3 separate regions of the Homo sapiens genome follow, and all the other regions are linked to region 3. The links are contacts of gene promoters, found by promoter capture Hi-C in blood cells and fetal thymus (Javierre and others, 2016). All regions are on one chromosome and are shown on one strand. Each heading gives the region's core, a stretch centred on a gene start or on the middle of the fragment in contact. The rest is flanking DNA. Distances are from core to core; before and after follow the strand shown. Region 1 holds the start of PSD4 (pleckstrin and Sec7 domain containing 4). Region 2 has its middle 4.4 kb from the start of TTL. Region 3 holds the start of CKAP2L (cytoskeleton associated protein 2 like).

The links. The method cuts DNA at HindIII sites, captures the fragments that hold promoters and counts their contacts. A CHiCAGO score of 5 or more calls a contact.
Region 1: a contact is called between the fragment with the promoter of PSD4 here and the fragment with the promoter of CKAP2L in region 3, in 2 of 17 cell types (naive CD8 T cells and non-activated CD4 T cells). The highest score is 7.4, in naive CD8 T cells.
Region 2: a fragment that was not itself captured here is called in contact with the fragment with the promoter of CKAP2L in region 3 in 1 of 17 cell types (fetal thymus); the score reaches 6.9 in fetal thymus.

The regions. Positions count from the first base shown.
Region 1 is chr2:113,172,475-113,175,523 of GRCh38, forward strand. PSD4 (pleckstrin and Sec7 domain containing 4) reads left to right here and starts at 1,497. Exons shown (of 17, transcript NM_012455.3): 1 at 1,497-1,580. LOC124907872 (a long non-coding RNA gene) reads right to left here. Exons shown (of 2, transcript XR_007087197.1): 1 at 2,796-3,049. RefSeq lists enhancers at 1-339, 340-840, 1,070-1,139, 1,190-1,359, 1,980-2,069. The HindIII fragment of the contact is 16,060 bases long and covers 1-3,049 here.
Region 2 is chr2:112,476,130-112,479,420 of GRCh38, forward strand. No RefSeq gene overlaps it. Among named protein-coding and RNA genes, the nearest start is that of TTL, 4.4 kb to the right of the region's middle. The HindIII fragment of the contact is 2,753 bases long and covers 107-2,859 here.
Region 3 is chr2:112,763,344-112,766,562 of GRCh38, forward strand. CKAP2L (cytoskeleton associated protein 2 like) reads right to left here and starts at 1,266. Exons shown (of 9, transcript NM_152515.5): 1 at 1,219-1,266. The coding sequence starts at 1,255. RefSeq lists an enhancer at 896-1,035 and a silencer at 1,486-1,645. The HindIII fragment of the contact is 4,243 bases long and covers 553-3,219 here.

The DNA of each region.
Region 1 (3,049 bases), core at 247-2,746, 410 kb after region 3:
CTCCAGCCTGGGCAACAAGAGCGAAACTTGGTCTCAAAAAAAAAAAAAGTGTCTATTCTCCTAATTCTCCTACCTCCCACTTTCATCATGGCCTGGAGCTCCAGGTTTGAAGGAGGATTCTTAGCCGCCTCTGAATGTTGCTGCCACAGCACAGCCCACCCCAGCCTTTGGCCCACGCCACAGCTCCACCTCCCTTTCTCTTCCCCACCCTGCTCTGTATCACACGTGCATGTGGGTGGGTGACCTGCCCAAAGGTTTGAGCTCTCTCTACCTGCTCCCGTCTCTGCTATCAGGACTCTTGCCAGCGCTTCACCCAGTCTCAGGCTGCATAGGGCAGCGGTGCTGTGTGCCCACATGGGGAGGAGGCCATTTGGGCCCCAGAAGTGGAGAGTCTCGGGATCTGGGGCACGCAGAGTGTGGTGGAGAAGCAGGGTGCACGGGCTCCATGTTGGTATGTTCCTGTGGACTCTGTACCCTGCAGGGAGGGGTGCGGCTGTAGGTGAGCTAGAGCCCGACCCTCTCAACTCTGGGTCAGGGTGGCTGGTCCCCACTGCTGTGTGGACATGCAAGTGAGGGAGTCTCTGGGTCAGCTGGAATCATGAAGACGAGAGTTCAGGGAGGGTGGGAGTGGTGGAGCCTCAGCAGAGAAGTTGACGGTCATTGATGTTGAGGAAGTAGATTGTGTGGAGGGAGGAGAATGGCATGGTGTTTGCGCTCCCCACCAGCCTCACTTACACTTGTGGACACTGCGGCCGGTGTCCTGAGGACGTGTGTTGGGAATTCAGCCACGGGGAATGGAGGTCCCTTGGTTCATATAGTCACAGGCTCTGTATTCTAACCCCAGCTTTGTAATTTTCCAGCTGTGCAACCCTGGGCAGTGGCTTAGCATCTCTGAGCTTGCCTCCAGATCCGGATCTGTATGATGGGGTTATTAATGCTTCATAAAGTAGGTGTGAGGAGGGATTGAGGTACTATTGGGAGAAACTTTGTAACTAAAAGGCAATTGTATCATTTGCATTATTACCAGTGACATGAGACATAGTCACACAAAAATTGAAATGTCATTTGTTTTAAAACCAGAAATTGCCCAACTTAGGGCCCTCCTGTCTCTCACTGGGTGCCCTGCAGGGGACCAAGAGCCAGAGCAAGACTGAGAACCTGGGGCAGAAGCGCAGGGAGGAAGGAGGTGGGGCCTGCTTACCAACCAGGCCTCGGCCCCTTCCCCTTTCAATCCCAGGCCCCTGCATGGCAGGGAGAGGCCAGTTCCACCATGGCAGGTTCTTTCTAGGCTGGTGTGCAGGGTGGGGGCCTCCAAGGAGCAGGGGCATGGGGAAAGGGGCTGCAGGCGCTGGGCCTAGGAAGAGAGGCTCTTATCTTGTGGGCAGGAAGTGTGAGGTGTTGAGCAGCTAGGGAACCCTGGGGAGGCGGCGGGGAGCAGGAGGGGTGTGTGTTGTGGTGAGGAGGAGCGGAAGTCGGAAGCTCCAGCCGTCACAGCCACATTCACTGGGCAAGCCGACTGTGAGCCAGGAAGTGCTCTTGGGGAGCCCAGGCCAAGCCATCCATTCTTGGGTCCTTTGGAGGTGAGCTAAGTGGGTCTGCCTAGGTTGGGGCTGGTGGAACCTGTGGGAGCAGGGAATGTGGAGAGTCACATGTGGGTCCTTGTGGCAGGGGCTGGGGCAGGTGGGCAGGGGAGAGGCGAGGGCTCTGGCAGTGCCGTGTGCACCTGCCATGAGCCTGGGCTAGGCTAGGCCCCTCCTTCCCCCTTCCTGCTCTGTGTCCCGTCCCCCTCCTCCCTCAGCCTACCCCTCCTCATCTGACCCTTCTCTGATTCCCTGCCCTGGCCCCACGGACCTCTGTTGTTTCCCTTCCCTGGCTCCCCGCAGAGCCTCTGGAGGTCTGCAATAGTGAAGGGTGAAGGAAGCTCCTTGCTAATCCTCTTGTGAGTGTCACTGCGTCCCCAGTGACTGCTCTGGCTGAGTACCCAGTGGGGGCTTTTGTGGCCAAAGGTCCCAAGTGATTCTCGACCCTAGACTCTGGAGAGAGGGAGTCTGGAAGGCCTGGGTTTGGGGTGGGGGTGGCTCTGGGTGTGGTTGCTGCAGGAGCTCAGAGTCAACTTGGCCATCAGGGGGCTCCCAGCTTCATCTTGCCTTCCAGGACCATCCTGGAGAAGCTCGAGGAGAGGTAAGGGGACCCTCCTTACTGGTTTAGCTCTGGCTTAGGCCTGTTGTCCTGATGGGCAACAGGAACCACTGAACTCTCAAAGTGTGCCTGTGTAGGAAACTAAGGCCCACTGTAGTCATTATTGTTATAGTGAAGGTAGCTGCATGGAGGGAAAGTCCCCTGACACTGCCATTCCCCCCTTATTCCAGGGCCTAAAATTCCACAGTTGAAGTCACTCCTCTGCTAGAATGCAGGGAAGGGTGGCCTGTCATTAGCTGATGATAAATACTCCTCCGTTCATTGGACCTTGGACCAGCTTTAAAAAGTGGTCCCCAAGCAGGCCTGTCTCCCAGCTGCCTAGGACTCTAGAGCATCCCGTGGCCCCCTCCTCCTACAGACAAGGAACCGCCTAGCATGGGGATCAGAACACAGGCTGCTGAGCTCTTTGTTGGGGAAGGGGGAGAGACCCACAGAAGGGGTGAGGGATGTGGGGTGAGAGGACCCAGGGAGGAGAGGCCCAGCCTGGCCCCAGCCCCCTAGGGGTCTTTGTCCTCCCCAGGCAGCAGCTGTACTGGGTCCCCTTTGTCATTCTGTCCCTACCCCCGTGATCTCTCCCCTGGATACTCTCTGCCTACCTCAGACCGCCATCCTCTGCTCCCTTCCTGAGCCTCTGCTGGCCTCACCACAGGCCTTCAGTAGCACTGTCTTCTCTCTCTCTCTCTCTCTCTGTGTGTGTGTGTGTGCGTGCAAATTTGCATGATGGCTCTTTCTGTGTGGGCAGGATGTGGGGCCTTCTCGAGTCATTTCTCTCACGGTGCTTCAGACCCCAGGTTCAGACAGAGGCCTCTGTCCTGCAGCTCCAGGCCAGGGAGTTCCACTCATGGTTCCT
Region 2 (3,291 bases), core at 233-2,732, 290 kb before region 3:
CGATCAGAATTCACTGTAGCCTTGAACTTTTGGGCTTAAGCGATCCTAACACCTGACCTCCCAAAGTGCTGGGATTATAGGCATGGGTCACTTTGCCCACCCAGCAAGCTTTATTGCTTTACCTTCCACTTTTAAATGTATTCCATCATAACGCATTTGCAATTGATTTTTGAGTATAGCATGTGATAGGAGTCAAGGTTTATTTAGTTTTCCATATGGATATCCTTGACCCAGCTCCATCTGTAAGCCCATCTCTGCCCCTACTCATCTGCAATGTCACCTTTGATATAAATCAGGTTGTTTATAACATACATACAATGCAATTGTGAGTTCCAGGGCCACCTTTTTGAGGAACTCAAGCGAGGACACTGCTCTTCACAGCTGAGCATCCATTCCTCCTCACCCACAAACAGCCGCCCCTTGGCCACTGCCCAGGCCTATGGGTGCCTACACCAGCAGTGCCACTGACCCTTGGGACATGGGCCCGGGGAGGAAGCCTGAGCAGGGCCAGGAAATAGGCTTTGATCTCTGGACAGTGAATTCTGGTTCCCGGATATCTGGCACATCCTAGAAACTGGGAGGGTGACAGTCTCCTGGTGGCCATTAACTCCTTGACCTCACAAACGTCTCATCTGTAGGGAAGAATGTGGCTAGAGCAGGGCCGGAGTGAGAGCCTCTAAAGTTTTCTTACGTGGGCTTAAGAGTGGTGCTCCTAAAAAGCAAGCCTCAAAATCCTGAACTACTCCTCCCTTCATGTCTTTTCTTTGTGTCCTATACTTAGACCCCCAAACAACTTAAAATGGGTTTTCCCTACATGGGTTACATTGGTCTGTTTATTACATTGGTTAATTTTTCCCTTCTTATGCTAAAACCATGCTTCCTTAATTGCTACAGCTTTGTACTTACATACTATAACTTTGATAGTCAGGTCTTGATACCTGGTAGTGTAAATCCTCCAACTTTCTTAAAGATTACCTTTGCTATTCTTTTTTTTTTTTCTTTTTGAGTCAGAGTTTCTTTTTCTTTTTTCTTTTTTTTCTTTTTGAGTTGGAGTCTCACTCTGTCGCCCAGGCTGGAGTGCAATGGCGCAATCTTCAGCTCATTGCAACCTCTACCTCCCCAGTTCAAGTAATTCTCCTGCCTCAGCCTCCCGAGTAGCTGGGATTACAGGTGCATGCCACCATGGAATCTTAAAATCTTAAAAATCTTAAAAATCATGCCACCATGAAAATCTTTAAAAAGATTTTCAGTCTTTTTTAAAAAACATATGGCCGGCTAATTTTTTTGTACTTTTAGTAGAACTGGGGTTTCACCATGTTGCCTAGACTGGTCTCGAACTCCTAACCTCGGGCAATTTGCCCGCCTCGGCCTCTCAAAGTGCTGGGATTACAGGCATGAGCCACCGCGCCCAGCCAGTCCCTTGCATTTCTATATAAATTTTTGAATTACCTTGTCAATTTCCATGAATGGCTCTGCAGAGATTTTGTTTGGGATTGTATTGAATCTATAGATCAATTTGACACCTTAACAATTTTGAGTCTTTCAGTCATGAACATGGTACATCCTTTCATTTATTTTATGCTTTTAAATTTTCTCTCGATTATGCTTTGTAATTTTCAGTGTAGAGGCAATGCACAGCTTTCATTAGATACTCCTAATTATTTCACATTTATATTGATGCTACTGTAAATCGTATCTTTTAAAAATTTTTTTTCTATTTCTTTGTTGTTGACATACAGAAATACAATTTATATCTGTATATATACCTTGTATCTAGTGACTTTACAATGTTCAGTTATTCATTCAATTAGTATAGGTTCTTCAGGATCCACTATGTATAGAACCATATCATATGGGAAAAGTGACAGTTTTATTTTTTTCAAATTTTCCCTTAATAAACGGGTTATTTGATGGTACTATAAATGAAATTGTTTTCTTAATTTTTTCTTGGATTATTTTGGGCTGTTCCAAAAGTTTGCTGAATTTGTTTATTAATTCTATTAATTCTAATTTGTTTATTAATTCTAACATTTCGTGGGTATGTATGTGTGGGTAGTCCTTAAGGGTTTTTTTGGTAGAATTTTCTACATATATGTTATCTGCGAATAGAATCAATCTCTTTAATAGGTGTGAAATTATTCAGATTTTGTATTTCTGTGTCATTTTTGGTAAACTGGATTTTTCAAGGAAGTAGTCTATTTTGTCCACACGTCAAATTCATTTGCAAAAATTGATCATAGGATCTTCTTTCTTTCTTTCTTTTTTTGAGACGGAGTTTCGCTCTTGTTGCTCAGGCTGGAGTGCAGTGGCGCGATCTTGGCTCACGGCAACCTCCGCCTCCCGGGTTCAAGACCGTCTCCTGCCTCAGCCTCCCGAGTAGCTGGGATTACAGGCGTGCGCCACCACGCCCAGCTGATTTTTTGTATTTTTAGTAGAGGCAGGGTTTCTCCATGTTGGTCAAGCCGATCTCAAACTCCCGACCTCTGGTGATCCACCCGCCTCGGCCTCCCAAAGTGCTGGGATGACAGGCGTGAGCCACCGCGCCTGGCCGGATCTTATTGTTTTTAATACCTTCAGGATCTCTAGTGATGTTTCTTTTTTCATTAAAAAATTTGTTTAAAAATATTTTTAAATCTTCTTGCATCTGACCTTTTTCATTTTAACTTTGATTGTTCTTCCTTTCATTTGTTGGTCTTGAATGCTTAACAATTTTAAATTTTTTAAAATATATCCCCTTTGCCTTTGATTTCTTTATTGTACATTTATTTTCTACTTCCTTGATTTCTTCCCTTAGGATTTATTTCCTTTTACTTACTTTGGGTTTTGCTTATTATTCTTTTTCTAGTTTCATGAGATGGAAGCTTAATTGATTTTCAGTCTTCTTTTAAAAACATACGTACTTGGCCCACGCCTGTAATCCCAGCACTTTGGGAGGCCGAGGCGGGCGGATCACGAGGTCAGGAGATCGAGACCATCGTGGCTAACACGGTGAAACCCCGTCTCTACTAAAAAAAAAAAAAAAAAAAAGAATACAAAAAATTAGTCGGGCGTAGTGGCGGGCGCCTGTAGTCCCAGCTACTCGGGAGGCTGAGGCAGGAGAATGGCGTGAACCCGGGAGGCAGAGCTTGCAGTGAGCCGAGATCACACCACTGCACTCCAGCCTGGGCCACAGAGCCAGACTCCGTCTCAAAAACAAAACAAAACAAAAAAAAACACATATGTACTTTAGACTGTAATTTTTTTATTAAAAACAGCTTTAGCTGTATCCTACCAGTTTTGCTATGCCATATC
Region 3 (3,219 bases), core at 16-2,515:
GATGATGATTTTTACCCACAAACCCTTATATGGCTTCCTTTGTTGGTACTAAGGATAAAATACGCCCGGTCTGCTCACGGCAGACACCTATACTATGGTGACTTTCTACGCAAGCCATTTGTGAGGGGATGACAAGTCAATAATTTCTGCCTTCAAGAACTTTCAAACTAGTAGTGGAGATAAAATCAACACAGCAACAATTACAGTATAAGGTAAAATCTAAGGGCCATAAGAGACGAAAAGAAGTATGGGAGTTCAGAGGTAGGGCATAAATGAGGGGAGTAGGTGGCTAGAAAAGGTTAAAAGTAAATAATGATGTGAAGGAAGACAAAAAGACGACAGGGGTGCCAAACGACTCTTAACCTCATCTGAACGGAGTTGCCCTGTTTTGCTCTCTGATGCTCATGTATCTATCCTTAGAGACAGCTTGGCGGGCAATGTAGAGCGTAGGGGCTGACATAGGGGGTTGGAGTCCCACCTCCGTGACTTCTAGCAAATTAGCAAACTTTGCTGCTGCTAAGCCTATAAGGCGGACAGAAATGCCATCTTTAAAGCTTGTTATGTAAAGTGCCTAGGACCTCGTAGGCATCAACAGGAATAATGGATGAAACAAAACAACGGTGCGTATCTTGGAGAAAGTGGCATCTGAGCAGGAGTATTTTGAAAGGTAGGAAAGGGCTCCAAGCACATCTAAGAGATTAGGGAACGCAGAAGCCTTAGCCCTGGGTGCAGATTTAACCAATCAACTTCTAACCACCGCAGGCTGAGAGGTGTGGAGTGAGAGCCCCGCCAGAGGCAGGAGACCCGGGCTTCGGCCAGACCCCGCCTCCTGGCACAGAGGACCACGCCCGGCTCTGCCTGGAGCCAAATGTGGATCAAAACAGCGCGCAGCTTCCCACTGCTGGTGAAAACCCGAGCAAGGGGCCTCAGTTTCTTTATCCGGAACGTGGTGACAATGACATCTCTTTGCAAGGCTGCTGCAGGGCTTTCTGGAAATACGCCCGTGAGGTATCTGGGCCTGCGCACAGCCTCCCCCGCCCAGGACCCAGACGTCTACCTGGGGGTCCCGTCTGCGCTCCCGGGATGGAAAACGCCCAGGGGAAACTTAGGCAGGCGAGCGGACGGGCACCTCCCGCGGGACGAACTCACTCGGTGGCCTCCTACTTCCCCGGCCGTGTTCCAACGCCTGAGAATAACGGGAACAGCGGTCGTACTCACCGACAGCGGCAGCAGCGGTAGGCCCGGGCCCCACCATGACTCTTCAGTGACAGTTTTTCTTCAAACGCCGCGCCTGTAGCCAGGACCGGCGTGCCGCGCGTCCACGCGTCCTCATTGGCTCCTGCGGGTTTGAAACTCGCTAGTCGTCAGCACGGGAGGGCGGGACAACAGGCAATAGGCTCTTTGCGGTTGGCTCTGGCCTTGAGAACCCGACCTTGGGGCCCTTTGATTGGAAGAACGTGCAGCGCACCTCGGCATTGAGGGCGGCTTCCTCGGGGCGCGGCGCCGCCCGCCTCTGAGTGCGCCTGTGAGTGCGCCTCCGAGTGGGCGTGGGACCCTCCGTGGGGGCCTCAGCCGGGCTGGTGGTTGGGGGGCGGTTACGCTGAATCCAGCTGGGGTTGGCGCGCCGGGAGTCCCTGGGCGGAGAGACAGGGCGGTCCTCCCAGGATGCTGGGGCCGCTACCTGATTCTGTCCTTTCAAAGTCTCAGACTCACAGGAGCTGTGAAAAAATAATATTATAAAGAGGACATATGGGTCTTATGCATCTAAAGGCTCCTAGTTCTTAGTACTGCAGGGTGGCTCGTTTAATTGTGGTAAAATATGCATAACATCACATATACCATTTTAACCATTTTAAAGTGTTAAATTTTTCAAAAATGTGCAGTTTAGTGGTATTAAGTACCCTCACATTGTGGCACAGCCACCACTACTGTCCTTTCCAGAACTTTTTCATCTTCCCAAATGAAACCCTGTACCCGTCACTAACTCCGCACTCCTCCCTCCCCCAGCCCCAGGCAATCACCATTCTAGTTTCTGTCTCTATGGATTTGACAACTGTAGGTGCCATATAAGTAGAATCATGCAGTATTTGTTCTGTGACTGGCTTGTTTCACTTAGCATAAAGTATTCAAGGTTCATCCATGTGTAGCATGTGTCAGAATTTCCTTTCCTTTTAAGGGGGAATAGCATTTCGTTGTGTGGAGATGCCACATTTTGCTTCTTGGTCCATCCCTCTCCGGACACTTGAGTTGCTTCCACTTTTTGGCTATTGTGAATAATAATATGAACATGAATGCACAAATAACTCTTTGAGACTCTCCTTTTCATTCTTTTGGGTATATACCACGAAGTGGTATTGTTGGATCAAACGGCAATTCTATTTTTAATTTTTTGAGAAACTGCCTTACTCCTCTCACGGTGATCTCTTGTTCAAGGTATATTTTCGATTTCACCTGATCAGCTGACTATAAGGCCATAAGGCTAACGGAGAAACGCAGGCCTAGTTTCTCCTAGTTACTAGGAGATCGCAGGCCTCGTTGTCCTGAATCCCTAGACACACTTCATTCCCCTTGTTTTAATCCTAAATTTTTTTTCTTTTGAAGTTTGTCCTGTTTCATCTATTCTCCAGTTTCTTAAAGAGGTCTGGAAAATGCTTTTGGCTCCTTGTGTATGAAGGTTCCTCTTCCATGGATGCTGGAGAAGTCGTGTGTGGAGGGGCAGTCATATCTGGGCACCTGTTGGCCAGGTTCAGCTTACCAGTTGGGTACTCAGCAGGGCATGAAGCCACTGCAGCAGCCCTTCTCTTTAGCCGTAAATAGGGAGTTTGGAAGAGAGCCAGGGTTTCTGGATTTATGCATTTTGATATTTTCAATAGTGTATTAAATGTTTAAAATAGGAAAACTGATCATTATTTTTGTTAATGACTGAGAAAGGGACTCCTTCACCAACAGTTTCAGAAAAGTGAAGGCGGTTTTGTTTTGGTCTTTGTAGAATCTAGGTGGTTGAATGCATGTCAGTTGTAGAAGTCACCTTGCCTGATATCCCACGCAGTGCTGGAGTATTCCACAGACCCCATGTAGGTACTGCACCTTTGCAGGTATACTGCTGGTGTTGGTGAGCTGCCTTACCTGTCCTGTTATTGGAGACCCCTGCTTATTAGGAAACTTAAAATGAACTCAAATGAGCTTCCTTGCTTACTGGTCCTAGTCCTTTGGAGCAAC